Regions from separate parts of the Homo sapiens genome. Here region 2 is linked to region 1. Evidence: promoter capture Hi-C in 16 types of primary human blood cells and fetal thymus (Javierre and others, 2016). All regions are on one chromosome and are shown on one strand. Each heading gives the region's core, a stretch centred on a gene start or on the middle of the fragment in contact. The rest is flanking DNA. Distances are from core to core; before and after follow the strand shown. Region 1 holds the start of NRP1 (neuropilin 1). Region 2 overlaps PARD3 (par-3 family cell polarity regulator).

Region 1 (7,219 bases), core at 2,141-4,640:
ATATGATGCAGTTTGAACTACCAACCCGAATCTCCATATTGCATGAATCTGAAGTACTTTGAGGGAGTTAGTGGCTCAAATGGCCTTCTGGGAGCAATCGATTTCATCTATTTCTGACAAAGGGATGAGAGCTTGATGAAAGGAATCGAGCAGTTACCATCCAGTCTACTCTTACTGATGGGCCACGGTTCCAATCCGACTCAGGGAGCCCCAGCTGAAGGCCTTATTTCTGCAGCACCTCCTAAGTGGGAGTCCAGGAAACTGGGCTTTGCCCACTCACAGCCTCTGCAGGGCGTTCTGGGGGTGCGGTAGAGGACTCTTCCCTTCCCTGGAACTGGGTCCTACCAAGTCCAGGGATTTGTTCTATCAGGAAGAATAATGTGTTCAAGAGACCAAAATAAAATCAACCCGGGAACACTGCCAAATTCTTCCTCTGCCTATCACTTATTCTCGTATAGAGCCGGCCTGTCTCCACGCTGGGGAATTGCAAAAATCTAAAACTGACCCCTCTCACCACTTAGTGGAATCCAACAGCAAAGGAAAAAGGTTGTTAGCAAGGACAATTTGCTCTGTACCAACCCACTGGCCGGCAATTCTCAATCAGTGCGGTAGGGCTCCATTACCCAGCACTGTGAGTGGAAACTAAGGAGTCTAGAAAAACCTTAGATCAGCTAAGAGCAGAGAAATCAGAGGCAGAACTTAAATATGACATTTCCTTCTGAGTCCATAGTGCATCCCTTATTCACTGGTTGGAGAAAGCTGGCAAAAGCGCTCAGCTGGAGGCAGGCGTTTTCTGTGCGTTGAGGCGCCGGAGGAGCCATTCCCTTCGGGAAAGACAAGGTCGGGGTGGGGGCAGTCGCTCCGGAGTGCACGATCCGGTGGCTTTATTTGCTGGCCTGGCGGGTCTAGGCTGGAAAATGCACACTCAGCAGGGAAAGGGGAAGAGAGATTGGCGGCAGTTTTCTAAAAACAACACAGCTCAAGTCTCCCTCGTGTGCCCCCTCGCTCACCCCGCCGAGGCTCAGAGCTATCCAAACGGGCGCTCCGGAGCGAGCGCGGAGGTCGGGTCCCCCCAGGACGCAGGCGGGCCTCCGAGACTCCAGGCCGCCCCGGCCGCCGCTCCCTCCCGGTTCCCCTTCCCTGTCAACCTGCCAGGTCCTGAGAGGCGCCTCTCCCTCCGAGCCTGGACCGAGGTCGCTCCGGGTCACCCTAAATCTGATGATGCCGCTCGCCCGGCGCAGCCGGGGGCTGGGACTGGCGGGGCTGCACCTGGGGAGGCGGCGACCGCGCGCGGGTAGTAGCCGAGAGCCCAGGCTGCCTCTGCGGCGCTCACTCCCCCGGGGTCTGCGCTGGGCGCGGTCGGCGCCCCCGCCTCGCCTCCCGCCTGCCCGCCTGCCCGGGCGCAGGGCTGCCCATGGCTTCGACAGTGCTCCTTCCGCTCAACTTAGGCATTTAACTCCCAGCCCTTCGGTGCCCACTTCCCACCCCGCGCCTCCCAGGGGTCCGACAGCTGAGAAGAAGGAGGAAACTGGCAGAGGAAAGAGGCGCTCGGGGGGGCCGAGTTTCCAACTTGGCGACTGGGAATCCCGAGGCGCGTGGGGAGGAGAAGACAGGCTTGACCCGGGGCAAGAGAGTGGCGAGTGCGGGCTCCGTGGGTGCACCTCCCACTGGCCCGGGAACGGCCTGCACCCCGAGGGGCGCACGTCACTGCTCCCAGCCCGAGTCGCGAGCGCGCAGTCCTGGCCTGGGGCCCGCGCGCCTTGGGCTTTCTCCCTGCCCGCCCCTTTTTCTTCCGCCAAAACCTTTGACCAGAGTCTCCTTGCCAGCATTCCTACCTCCCTTTGGCCAGCTATTTGTGCCAGGTAGGAATCAGGCTGTACTTTGGCTGTGTGTGTAGACGCCAATCCCCAGGAGGCGTGTGACCTTTTCACCTTACCCACAAACTCCCTGGGAGGTGCCCCGTGGGCACTGACCCTTCTCCGGGGCCTGATCGGTGACCGCAACCTGTTTCTTCCCAGAAATGTCCTTGCTTTTCGCATCTACAAACGCTTCCTGCAGCACTTCTCGGAAAACCCTCGGGGACGGGCCTGGGGGGCATCCAGCGGGCTGGGGGCACGAGCCGCTGTGGGAAGTGGGGGTGGCAGGAGCTCCAGGGCCGGCGTGCACGTTGTCTGTGGCCGGGAGCGGACACTGAGAGGGCGCAGCGAAGAGCACCCCTCCCCCGCCACTCTTTCCCTCCCTCGGGATGCACAGAGAAACGGGGGCCGCCCGACCCCTGATTTCCACACCCCTCCCTAGCACCTGGGCTCCCAGACAAGGTTGGGCGGGGTCGGGCGGCGATTGCCCCCCTGCTTGGAAGGCGCAGCACCTCCCACCCTCCGGTGTTCCCTCTGCCCCAGAGGAACGGGCACCAAATCTCGGGAAACAATGAAGCCTCCGCGGCGCGCAGAGGGCACCCAGCCGCGCGCCCTGATGCGGGCCAGGGAGGCCGCGTGGGGCTGCAGCCCGGCCTCGCCCGCCCAGGCGGTCTGTCTTCGCTTCACACCACAGCGACACTGCTGCCCCTCGCCCGGCTTCGCGGTGCGGCTCCCACTCCAGCCCGGCTTTCCCCTCCTCGCCCTCCAGCTCTGGGCAGGGGCGTCCAGGGGTGCCCCGCTGCTCCCCGCCACAGGTCTCAGGATGGCGCGATGAGGAGTGGCAGGGGGTGACCCTGCGTTCCTCGCCGCCGAGGGCGCGGGCCCCGGGATTTGAAGTTGCGAGAAGCAGCCGCCACCTCCCGGGCGCTCCGCACTGCGCGGCGGCGGGATCTGCGCCTGCAGGAGCTGCCCAGCTCTCCCTCTAGGGGTGCAGAGCGAGCACGCGAGGTGGGCTGGCCAGACCCTGCGGCTGGCACTGACCTCCGCGCCCCTTCCTCCGACGCCCGCACCCACGCGACCGGGGCGCAGACTCCCAGCGCCTTCCTTCCCGCGGAGATCCCTGCAGGGTCTCTGGGAAAGACAGACAGACGGACGGGGAGAGCACTCGGAGGGAAAGTTGTTCCTCCCAGTCTCCTGTCAGGCAATTACAGGCGAGCCCAAGCGGGGAGAGGGGCGGGAGGAAGCGAGGGAAGGGCTCCGGAGTGGGGGGAGGCCGCAGGAGGGGAGGCGGGGGTGCAGTTGGTGAAACTCCTCTGTCTCCCGCTCATCTTTTCATTGCTCGTTCCCCTCCTTCCCGCAGACACCCGGACCTCCCCTGGGCGCCAGCTCCGCGGCTCCAACGGGTCCAGAAACAAGCCGGATTTTTTTTTTTTCTTCCTGGAAATTGGCTTTGGTGTGTGTTGCCCTACCTCCCTCCTCCCCCTCCCACCCACAGCCCCCCCCCGGCCTTTTTTTTTTTTTTTTTTTTTTTTGAGACATGGCCCGGGCAGTGGCTCCTGGAAGAGGAACAAGTGTGGGAAAAGGGAGAGGAAGCCGGAGCTAAATGACAGGATGCAGGCGACTTGAGACACAAAAAGAGAAGCGTTCCTCTCGGATCCAGGCATTGCCTCGCTGCTTTCTTTTCTCCAAGACGGGCTGAGGATTGTACAGCTCTAGGCGGAGTTGGGGCTCTTCGGATCGCTTAGATTCTCCTCTTTGCTGCATTTCCCCCCACGTCCTCGTTCTCCCGCGTCTGCCTGCGGACCCGGAGAAGGGAGAATGGAGAGGGGGCTGCCGCTCCTCTGCGCCGTGCTCGCCCTCGTCCTCGCCCCGGCCGGCGCTTTTCGCAACGGTAAGTGACAGGCAGAGGCGCGGGTGACAGCGGCGCCCCGGCTCCCAGCTGCCCGCCCCGGACCGGGGCTCAGGCGGGGCTTCCCGGGATCAGCCGGGAACAACCGACTCCCGGGCGAAGGAAACTTTTATCTGGGAGGAGAGAAGAAGAAATGAGATCAGGCGGTTTAGAGCAGGAGGATTTCAGGTCTTTGGGCTCCCTCCTGACGTTGATCCTTGGGCTGTGGGGCTTTTCCTTACCTCTGTTACAAGACAGAGCTGTCTACCTTCCCAGATCAGCATGCCAATTATCTTAATAATGTTTCCTCCCAAAGGCAATTAGAAGAGACTCCCTTTCAAAAATCTGATGGCTGTTGAAAGTTAATGAACACTTTACCAGGAGATCTTACTTCCTGGTTCCTTTGCTGCTCCCCTAAGCCGTTTCCTCTGGTGGGTGACGGCCAGAGATATCGGTTTGTGGGTTGATGAAACTCCCTCCCCCGCCTTTGTACACCTTCCGTAATCTGTCTGGAGTATGACTGAAAGTTACATAGTATCAATACAGGAATCTGACATATACAGTGTAAGGCACCAGGATATCTGAAAATCCCTAAGCTAGTTGCAGCTTCCACTTAGCTTTTAAAATCACTCACTGTTAAGTAAATGAAAAACTATACTGGGGTCTAAACAGTACCATGTAACCTAAATAATGTGTTTTAAAATGGGATCTGGTTGTAGGCATGTTTGACTTCACACTGTAAAGTAAGTGCAGGCAAGGGTATGCAATTATCTTTACAGTAAGTCGTCAGCAATTGTTATTAACTAATGATCAAATATTTACTTTTGTCTGGCTTAGATTTCAATCACAGTAATTAGAAGAAAAGAACATCCACTACTTACTGTGGTATATTGTTTTAATAAGAGACCGCAAGTGGAGGGCCTCATACCAACAGGAATTTAAATCACATCTTTATGATGGAAGTTAATCTCTCTAATATGCTTTTTCAAGGTTTTGTGATTTTAGCAATGGATTTCCCTCAGCAGCTACCAAGCAGTATTTTAAGAGATGCTTAAAGCAAAACACATGCAAAAAAAAAAATTATGAACATGGAATTCAGCTTATTAATGAGCCCAAGTTGATGGCATTTTTCTATAATCTGGCAGGAAAGCAAGACACAAAAAATTATGAATGTAGAATTCAATTTATTAATGAACCTGAGCTGGTAGCATCTTTCTATACTCTGGCAGGGAATGAAATAGCATTCTCGTCCAACTGAAAGAGCTCAAATGGTTGGACTAGAAATTATAGTAACCCTGTCCTCCACAACTCTTGAGACTAAATCCATAGTGGGGGTGTTCACAAGATAGATTTGAAGCTCAATGCAAAGAGCTATCAGACTTTAGGTTGTGAACTACACAAATATATATGCAGTACACACACACACACACACACTTCTTAGTTTTCTTAGCAGAAATCTGGGGAATGCTGAAAATCTGGCTTTAGTTGTTGAGCTTTACCAGCAAAAGCCATGTCGCTATGCTTGAAGTGACCAGAGCCAGAAAATGCCTCTGTAACTCAGCAGACCTCTCAAAGCCATGTCCACCTCCTCTGAGTAACCAGTGTCTGCTAAATTAATTCATTAACCTTATTTAGGACTAATGGTCCAGAGTCATTAGAAACTGCTCTTTCTTAATCAACTGCTAGAGAGATTGAACAGAGCCAGGGAGTCTAGCAGTCCACATTATCTTATTACACTGTCACTTTCTCAGAAGTCACAGATTAAAGAGCTCTGGTGTGGTACCAAGTCCACCTAAATGTCTTCTGAAGTGACTCTGTCGAGTGACTAGAACCAGTGCTGTTTTATTTCACTCCTGTAACAGATGCCAGACACTACCATGATGTTTGTCCAGAGCTAGAGGAAACTTAATGAGACGAGGTCACTTTCCAAGTTTTCTGCACATTCAAAATAATGCAAGAGTCTCAGCAGAATCACATAACAGAGTCCAACATGATCATTAGCTGAGATTTTGAACTCCAGTTGCAACATCATTTCTTCCTGGCAAAGCTTACACTTTTACAAGCCAGTGCAAAGGAAACCAGCATAAGACTACCCCCAGTCTAAGGAACAAAGTCAGAAGCACCTAGCGATTGAGAAAAACAATATAACTTATATTGTCTTCTTTTTTTAATTTATGGGAAATGATTTCTGTAATGCATGTAGCTTTATGCATTTTTGATGTGCACTTCATCTTTCATTTCCATTTGACCTGGTTTTCCTGTAATAAAATTCTGTAGATTTATAAATTCATGCTGAGAGCAAAGAATGCCATTCTCTTTCCACAGGGAATCTATTAGATGCAGTGTTAAAATCTACATCTACCATTACTGAAAATTTGTGATTGATAGGCTTATATATTTCACTGTTTTCATACCGTTTCTCTTATATAGTTTATGCACCGAATTTTTATTGCTCAAAATTAAGCATCAATAAATGTGGCAGCATTTCAGGCTGAGGTGCTCCAGTATGAAATCCATCATAAAATGTGACAATGAGAATCTATGCTGAACAATATAGGCAGCCCAGAGACTGGTTTACTTGGTTTATTTGGCTTCACTTGAGCATTTTTGAAATGAAGGCTCAAAACTACTTAGCTCACCTTTCCCAGAATGTGAGAATGTGGGTTACCATATGTGATACCCAGACCTGTGTGGTGGGTTATTTTTCACCCAACATTTAGGTAATTAGAATTAATGCCATGTGGCTATTTACTTTTCCTTCTGCCCCGTTGCTTTGATCCGATCTCCAAGCTTGAACAACTTTACTTGGAGAAGTAAAGCAGAATTATTTCTGCTTCACCAAATATACTTTGTTCTCTGTTGATTTGGATCTCAAGAGCAGAGATAACTCAAAATCACTTAGATTTATGGGCAGATAAAACAACAACAACAAAAGGTTTGGCTTTAAGCCAATCAAAGACAATCCCCACTGATCAATGACATAGACCAGGCTTATCATCAAAAAACAACACAAGGGGTCGAACAGCATCTTTCAGTCACTTTCCACTTAGAACTTGCTACTTAATGTGATTACACTTCTTGGGGGATAATTAAGTCTAGCAGAAGCTCCCAGGGGACCATGTTAACATCAATTGAGGGGATTTAATGTTTTTAATGCTAGAAGACCTTTTCCTTAGGAAGAAACTTCGGGGCTGGGGGGAAGAGTCCTCTCAGATCTCAGTTGGCTTTCTGCCTGAGTCAACCTTCCTGAGATCAAAGAGTGTTTTTTCCTGGAGTGTTGCACTCAGAGCCACACGAAGGACTTACGGGGACCTTTTAGAGTTCCCCTTAAAAAGTTAAGGAATGTTTAATAACCAGTAATTTACATATAAAGCTAGATTACCTAACAGGTTGTCAGGAAAGATCTGCTAAAATCTTACTTTCATTGCAGATAAATGTGGCGATACTATAAAAATTGAAAGCCCCGGGTACCTTA
Region 2 (7,219 bases), core at 2,987-5,486, 1.1 Mb before region 1:
ATCTGCCAGCTTTGTCCTCCCAAAGTGCATGGATTACGGGCATGAGCCACCTTGCCTGGCCTGGATCTTTTCTATAATGGACATTTCTCACTTATTTACATCTACCTTTATTCTTAAGTCTGTGGCACTTAAATTTGTTTCACATTACTTTTCCTTGTGAAAATAGTAATTGTATGTTGGTGTTTATATACACTTTTTTTTTTTTTTTAAGATCTAGTATCTACTAGTTAGCATTTTTGGTGCCTTTGATATCTCAGATCAAAGATTCACAAACTTTCTGTAAAGGGTCAGATAATCAGTATTTTAGGCATCATGGCCCAGAAAATCTGCCATTGTAGCATGAAAGCAACCATTGACAAGATATAAACAAAGCTTCATTTACAAAAACATATTGCTGGCTGAATTGACTCATAGGCTGCAGTTGTCAGCCCTTGCCCTAGGGAACCAAACAAATAAAAATGGCTGCCATGATGGTTTTACATTCTAGTATTTTTCATGTCTAAAACTTCTTCACCTCTGTTTTCTATTCATATCTTTGGGGGACAAGAGTGTACAGGATTTTGATTTCCACTTACTGTTTGATAAGAAAGCCTCTTTTGTTGTAACTACATATTAATTCCCAGCAGTGCATGTCCTTGATTCTCAGGAAGAAGGGAAGTTGAAAAAAACCATATAAGCCCATTTACCATACTCTCATTAGTAGTATGTACTCACAGAACAATCCTTCTTAACATCTACTTGTCAATCATAAGACTTAAGGAAAAATCTAAAGTTTCACAGTTAGAAAATCAGGCCCTGTGAAGATGGTGGTGAGGGAAATGAAGGGACTCTGGGTGTGGGTCTGGCTTTCTGCTACTGACTCATGTTGGCAGATATCTTATTTATTAATTTATTCTCAACTTACTTTTTACAGATTTGCCATCATTTGATTTGTCTGATTAACTTTGATTTTTATCCCAAATAATTTTTTTCATCTGTTTATCTTCAATACAATATTCAGAATATCAGGTGAAGTGTCAACATCCTTTGGAAAAAGCTTCTTCAATTTCTGTGTTAAAGTTTATTTTTATGACTTTTCCCCTCTTTATTTATTTGCTTAGTTACATTATTGTCCATAAATTCCATCATGAAGCTGAAAAATGAAATCACATCTCTAAGAGAATATTTTTTATTTTTAAAATTGATTTATTCTTTTTTTTACTTTCTTTCTTTCTTTATATTTTTTGAGACAGGGTCTCACTCTGTCACCCAGGCTGGAGTACGGTGGCAGGATCTCCAGGCTCAAGTGATCCTCCCACCTCAGCCTCCCTAGTAGCTGCGACCACAGGCACACACCACTATGCCTGGCTAATTTTTTGTATTTTTGGTAAAGGTGGGGTCTCCCCATGTTGCCTAGGCTGATCTGGAACTCCTGAGCTCAAGTGATCCACCCACCTCGGCCTCCCGAAGTGCTGGGATTACAGGTGTGAGCCATCACTTCTGGCCACTAGGAGAATATTTTTAATGTTTTGCGTTTTTGAGTTGAAATAAAAGTGACCCTGTTGGAAAATATGTATTTCATAAGTATTATTATTTGCATTCTATTTAAACCTGAATATAGATTAATTAGAAGGTGGTTAAAATAATCTATATGCAGATTGTATTTTGTAATTAATCTATATTCAGAAAATCACTGAAATATAAAAGTTTGTTTTTTACATCCTGCATTCATGTCTTGAATAATTTCCCCCTCAAATATAAACTGATGTTTCTCTGTCTACAAGACTAGTAGTCAAACATCTTTGGATGGTCTTGAGACATACCATACTCATCCATTTAATTCAGCAGAATCTGAGCTTCACTCTCCCCTCAACTAAGATTTACATGATTATAATTATATTGTTTGTCATTTTTATCCCTTCCTGTCTGAACAAAAACTGTATGGAATCAACACCACCGAGCTCTGTGGGAAAAAAGAAAAACCTTCTCCCTTCGCTCTGCTGGAAGCTGGAGGGCGCTAGGCCCCTGTGCAGTAGTGCATAGAATTCTAGCTTTTTTCCTCCTTTCTCTGTATATTGGGCTCAGAGAGTACACTGTGTCTCTATGTGAATATGGACAGTTAGCATTTACCAACATGTATCTGTCTACTTTCTCTTGTTTAAAAGAAGAAAAAAAAAACTAAAAAAAAAATGAGGTTATAGAAGGTCAGCAAAGGGTGGGTTTGAGATGTTTGGGTGGGTTAAGTGGGCATTTTGACAACATGGCTTCTCCTTTGGCATGTTTAATTGTGATATTTGACAGACATCCTTGCAGTTTAAGATGACACTTTTAAAATAAATTCTGTCCTAATGATGACTTGAGCCCTGCCACTCAATGGGGGAGTCAGCAGAACCTGTAGGATCTTATTTGGAATTGACATTCTCTATTGTAATTTTGTTCCTGTATATTTTTAAATTTTCTTTTTGTTTCGCTGGAAAGGAAAGATGATGCTCAGTTTTAAACGTTAAAAGTGTACAAGTTGCTTTGTTACAATAAAACTAAATGTGTACACACACAAAAAAAACTATATTGTTTGTTATACCCTTTTGTTCATCTAAGATATTCTTTATCATTTTTTGCTCTATTATGTATTGAAAACGCAATTTATTTTCCCCAGATTTGGAGTTGGGAATTTTGTATTACCTCTCTGTGTCAGTCAGTGACTGACTTGACCTTATGTTGTCCTCGTTTTATTGGCACGGGGATTGTCAGGACTGGGGAAGGATACCTTGCTCAGTATTTTTTACGTAGTGTGGCCTTGGGCAAGTTAGCCTCACTTAGCCCTACTCCTTACATATGAAGGATAGGAATCATGACTTTTGTATGGTTTAAATAAGAAAATATATGTAAATCATTTAGCAAGGTCCTTGGCAGTGGCAGCTAATAAGAATGATCAAATCATGAGAAGAGATTTTATACTCAATTTATCTTTTGTTATGTGCCTTGAAATTCCCTCCAGTGGTGCTTGGTATTCTGGTGCTTGGTATTCTAGGTAGGTAGTGATTAGTCTACCCAATCAGAGAAAGTGATCATTTTCCTCTTATATCATGAATCTGGGAGAAAATTTACTATTATGTCGTAAAATTGAGAATCCCAATACACATTTGTTTAGTTAATTGGGTACATATGCTAATGAAGAATTACAGTCAATTTGAGCTTCACAAACTAGCTGAGAATAAATATGCTCTTGAACTTTTGAGTACTCAATTTTAATTTAATAACTTTTGAAAAAAACGCAATTTAACTTTATTTGCTGAATCAATAGTCTTTTGTCTGAAAGTTTTCAATTGTGCATTCTCAGCCGCAGACTCATTTGTTATAATAAAGAACTATAACATACGCATTGGTTTTAGAGAGACAAGTTGCAGTTTACACTTACATGAATCATGTCTCTTTATATATAGCAATATGACATCTGTGATTTCTGCTGTAATCTAAAGGAATTTTCCATTTTTATTTACCTTTTTGGCCTGATTTATCTCATTCATTGAAGTTTTTCTAAAAAAAAAATTAAGATTTAAAGTTTTAACTTGGCATTCCTTTAAACTTTCTCCTTTTGGTGTCCATGCTTTCAGTGGCAGTACTTTCTGGGCTCATGTAGGTAGTTGCTGGCCCCCCATGGGCTGTACTCAGGGAGCTGAGCGGTTCTTGTTGATGAGACCCTATTCTGCCCACTCATATTCTGCCTTCCCTACCGTTGTGATGTTTATACTGTGTCAACCTTTATTAAGATGAATTATAATCATTTCCATACAGCTGGGTGGCAGTTGTGGTAGTTTACATTATCAACGCAAAACTCAGACTTACTCAGCCAATTTGGATGTCAATAAAACATTTGTTACTTATTTTCAGTTTTATCATTGGTTGTAATTTATACTTAGAATTGAAAATGTTAACATGTGTGACTGCGTTTGTTTTAATTAAGTGTATAATTAGGCTAATGAACCTTGTAAAAATGTAGTGGTGCAATCCTTAATATAATCTAAGTAGTTAAATTCTAATTATGCATCCAAAATCATGTACAAAGAAGCAGCATTTCAATGGCTCGCTTTGTGCTACTGTACCCTAGCTTGTCTTTTTTTTTTTTTTTTTTTTTTTTTTAAGAAACATTGTTCAAAAACGAAGTCTTGAAAGAAATATGCATGTAACATACTTTTGTATTAGGAAAATTATTCAGAAGTGATATTTGTATGCAGCGGATCTAGTGTTTTCTTCTTTTCAAATTTTGAAGAAAATATAGGAGACTAGAAGAGGAATAGATTTGGGGATGTTTCAGCTCCATCAGGAAAAATCCATTTGCTTGAAAAGCATAAAGCCAAGTAGGGTTTATCTTAGATTCATAAGGAAGGTAGAGGAGGTTCTGTTTCACATAACCCTAAACCCTATAATCATTTCTTCTTAAATCTGCGCCACCCCACTAATAAATGCCCAACTCTTTTCTCTTATGTCTTTTGTCCTAGCATAACAAATCTGGGGTTGTTCTGCTCTTGGAACCATTCCCCAAACAGAGCTTACTCCAATGCCTCCTTTCCTGACACCTACCTCTTTTATTTTTTGCAAAGTGGTTTCTTCTTAGGATGGAACATGGTTGACCCAATAAGGAATTCTGGTATTAGCTGCCAAGAAGGAACACTGTTCTCTCTACCAGCACACTGACGTGCCAAAATGTTTAGAACTTCATTTGCTTTGATTACTTTCTCTAATAAAACTGTTGCAGCAGCCATACCATAGGCAGTTGGTTCTTTATTACTTTAGAACAAATTCTGATTTCTAGTTGAGTTTGCAAAATATATCCCTAAAATTTGTTTTTAATTATATTGTTTGATACAGCTTTAAGTTGCAAATGAGGGCTATGGAAATGTATCTGCTCGCGAGCACACATTTTTCAGGAAAGTGTCTCTTCTTACTACTTTTGATTTCCTTCGGAGGTTCTTTTCATTCTCAGTCTAGCTGTTATCAGTTGGATTTTCTTGTGACTTTTTTTTCTTTTGATAGTTCATTCCCATTCCTTTGCAATCATTTTCACCTAGTGGAGTAAATGAGATAATTTTGCAGATTGTACCACTTTCCTTTTAAATTAATCCATTCTTTTTGAGAGAATGATTCTAATAGTGTGGTTAAGTACTTAGAAATCAGCAGGCTACTAACTTCACCTTAATTCAGTCTGTTCCCTTGATTCCCTCATCTCTTGCTGTGTCAGTCAGGGTGATGTTCTTTCTCTTCTGCAGTCTTCTTCCACCCTCTATCTCCCAGCCCCCCATCAGGTCTCTTGTACTGAGTAAAAGGAATCTGAGATCTGAGATTTTCATGACTTATAACAATGTTGGTTGCTAAAGCCTCAGTTAATAAATTTCCATTATAGTTTCTATACGTGTGTGGTGTATTTATGATTTGTAGAATTTCTACTGTATGTTAGGATTGCTAATGCATTTGGCCATTGATGAGGACTTATTTAGAAAGACAACCATTCAAGAAATGGAACATTACATGCTTTTCTACTTTGGATTATTAGTCTAGAATGATTACCAGAAAAAAAACACATAGGTTTAAAACTGAAAAATTATGAGATGAATATAAATCTGTTCATCTACTTATCTGAAAAAAATTATTGATGTTACTTCTAGAATTAAAGAGCAGATTTCAGCTGGCACAGTGGCTCAAGCCTGTAATCCCAATACTTTTGGGAGGCCAAGTCCAGGAGTTCAAGACCAGCCTGGGCAACATAGTAAGAACCCAAGTCTACAAAACAAACAAACAAACTAGCCAGGGGTCGTGGCACACACCTCTAATCCCAGCTACTCAGGAGGCTGAGGCAGGAGGATTGCTTGAGCCCCGGGGTTTGAGCTTGCAGGGAGCTGTGATTGAGCCCAGTATACCTCCAGCCTGGGTGACAGAGCAAGATTCTGTCTCAAAAAAAATTAAAGTGAAAGGATTTATAAGTTACACTGTTTTAAGTTGTCATAAATACTGAAAGGATGTATCCAAGATAGTTTCATAAATTTAAATAAATGATCGGTGCTAATTAACTGCTAAGTAATTTCCATTGAAGACCGTTTATATATATATTTTTTGTAAAAATTTTCTATGGACTATTTTAGATTACACAAAATATAATACATAAAAACATACTAATTGTTAGTCACTTACATTTGCAGTAATATTGTAGTCATATTGGGAAATCGCTTATGATTTCACCAATTAAAAACTCATTAACTGGAGTGAGTCTTGGTAGGGCATATTTTTATTGCAAGGACTGAAAGCATACACATTCCAAAGTGTGTCTGGTTTATAGTGGTGGCTTTTAACTACAGCTGTGGCACCTCACATGTGGTTCTGTTATGATTACCTGTGGGTGACTGAGACATCGTTTCCTTCAAGATGTTCTTTGAAACTGAAGTGGTCAGATATCTTCTGCATGTTCTAGTGGTACCAGTAACTGTGATTTAATTTAATTTCTTGTATTAATCTTCCTCATTCATCGGAATCATAGATATATCTTAATAATTCTTTTTTTTTTTTTTTTGGACGGAGTTTTGCGTTGCCCAGGCTGGAGTGCAGTGGCGCGATCTCGGCTCACCGCAACCTCTGCCTCCTGGGTTCAAGCGATTCTCCTGCCTCAGCCTCCCAAGTAGCTGGGATTACAGGTGCCCGCCACCATGCCAAGCTAATTTTATACTTTTAGTAGAGAGGGGGTTTCTCCATATTGGTCAGTCTGGTATTGAACTCCTGACCTCAGGTGATCTGCCTGCCTCAGCCTTCCAAAGTGCTGGGATTACAGGCGTGAACCACTGTGCCCAGCCAATAATTCCTTTGATTCCTATGATAGAACACTTTGTTCAGTTGCAGATAGAAACAAACAATAGGGAATCCTAGGGAGATAAATTATGGACATGATCACATTTAAACAATAACTTCATTTTTGGTTTGGCATATTATGGAATCTCTTTCTCCCAAATATGAACTGAGAGTTAAGTTGCTCCTGAAGATAAATCAGTGTACTTTATTCTTACCTTTGAGTTGAGATAATTTTATGTCTTTATATAGCTGCAATAAATGATAATAAGTAACTAAATATTATCTACATAATATTGTTTTTACTAGTCACTAATATTTTTAGACTCATACACTAGTAGGTGCTGATTCTCAACGCTAAAATTACAATTCTTGCAAGCTGATAGGCTTCACTCTAGTATAATGCCAC

The links. The method cuts DNA at HindIII sites, captures the fragments that hold promoters and counts their contacts. A CHiCAGO score of 5 or more calls a contact.
Region 2: a contact is called between a fragment that was not itself captured here and the fragment with the promoter of NRP1 in region 1, in 1 of 17 cell types (megakaryocytes). The highest score is 5.6, in megakaryocytes.

What each region holds. Positions count from the first base shown.
Region 1 is chr10:33,330,838-33,338,056 of GRCh38, reverse strand. NRP1 (neuropilin 1) reads left to right here and starts at 3,390. Exons shown (of 17, transcript NM_003873.7): 1 at 3,390-3,747; 2 at 7,175-7,219. The coding sequence starts at 3,675. The HindIII fragment of the contact is 8,759 bases long and covers 1-5,793 here.
Region 2 is chr10:34,386,140-34,393,358 of GRCh38, reverse strand. All of the region lies in intron 7 of PARD3 (par-3 family cell polarity regulator), which reads left to right. Among named protein-coding and RNA genes, the nearest start is that of PARD3, 430 kb to the left of the region's middle. The HindIII fragment of the contact is 6,396 bases long and covers 1,039-7,219 here.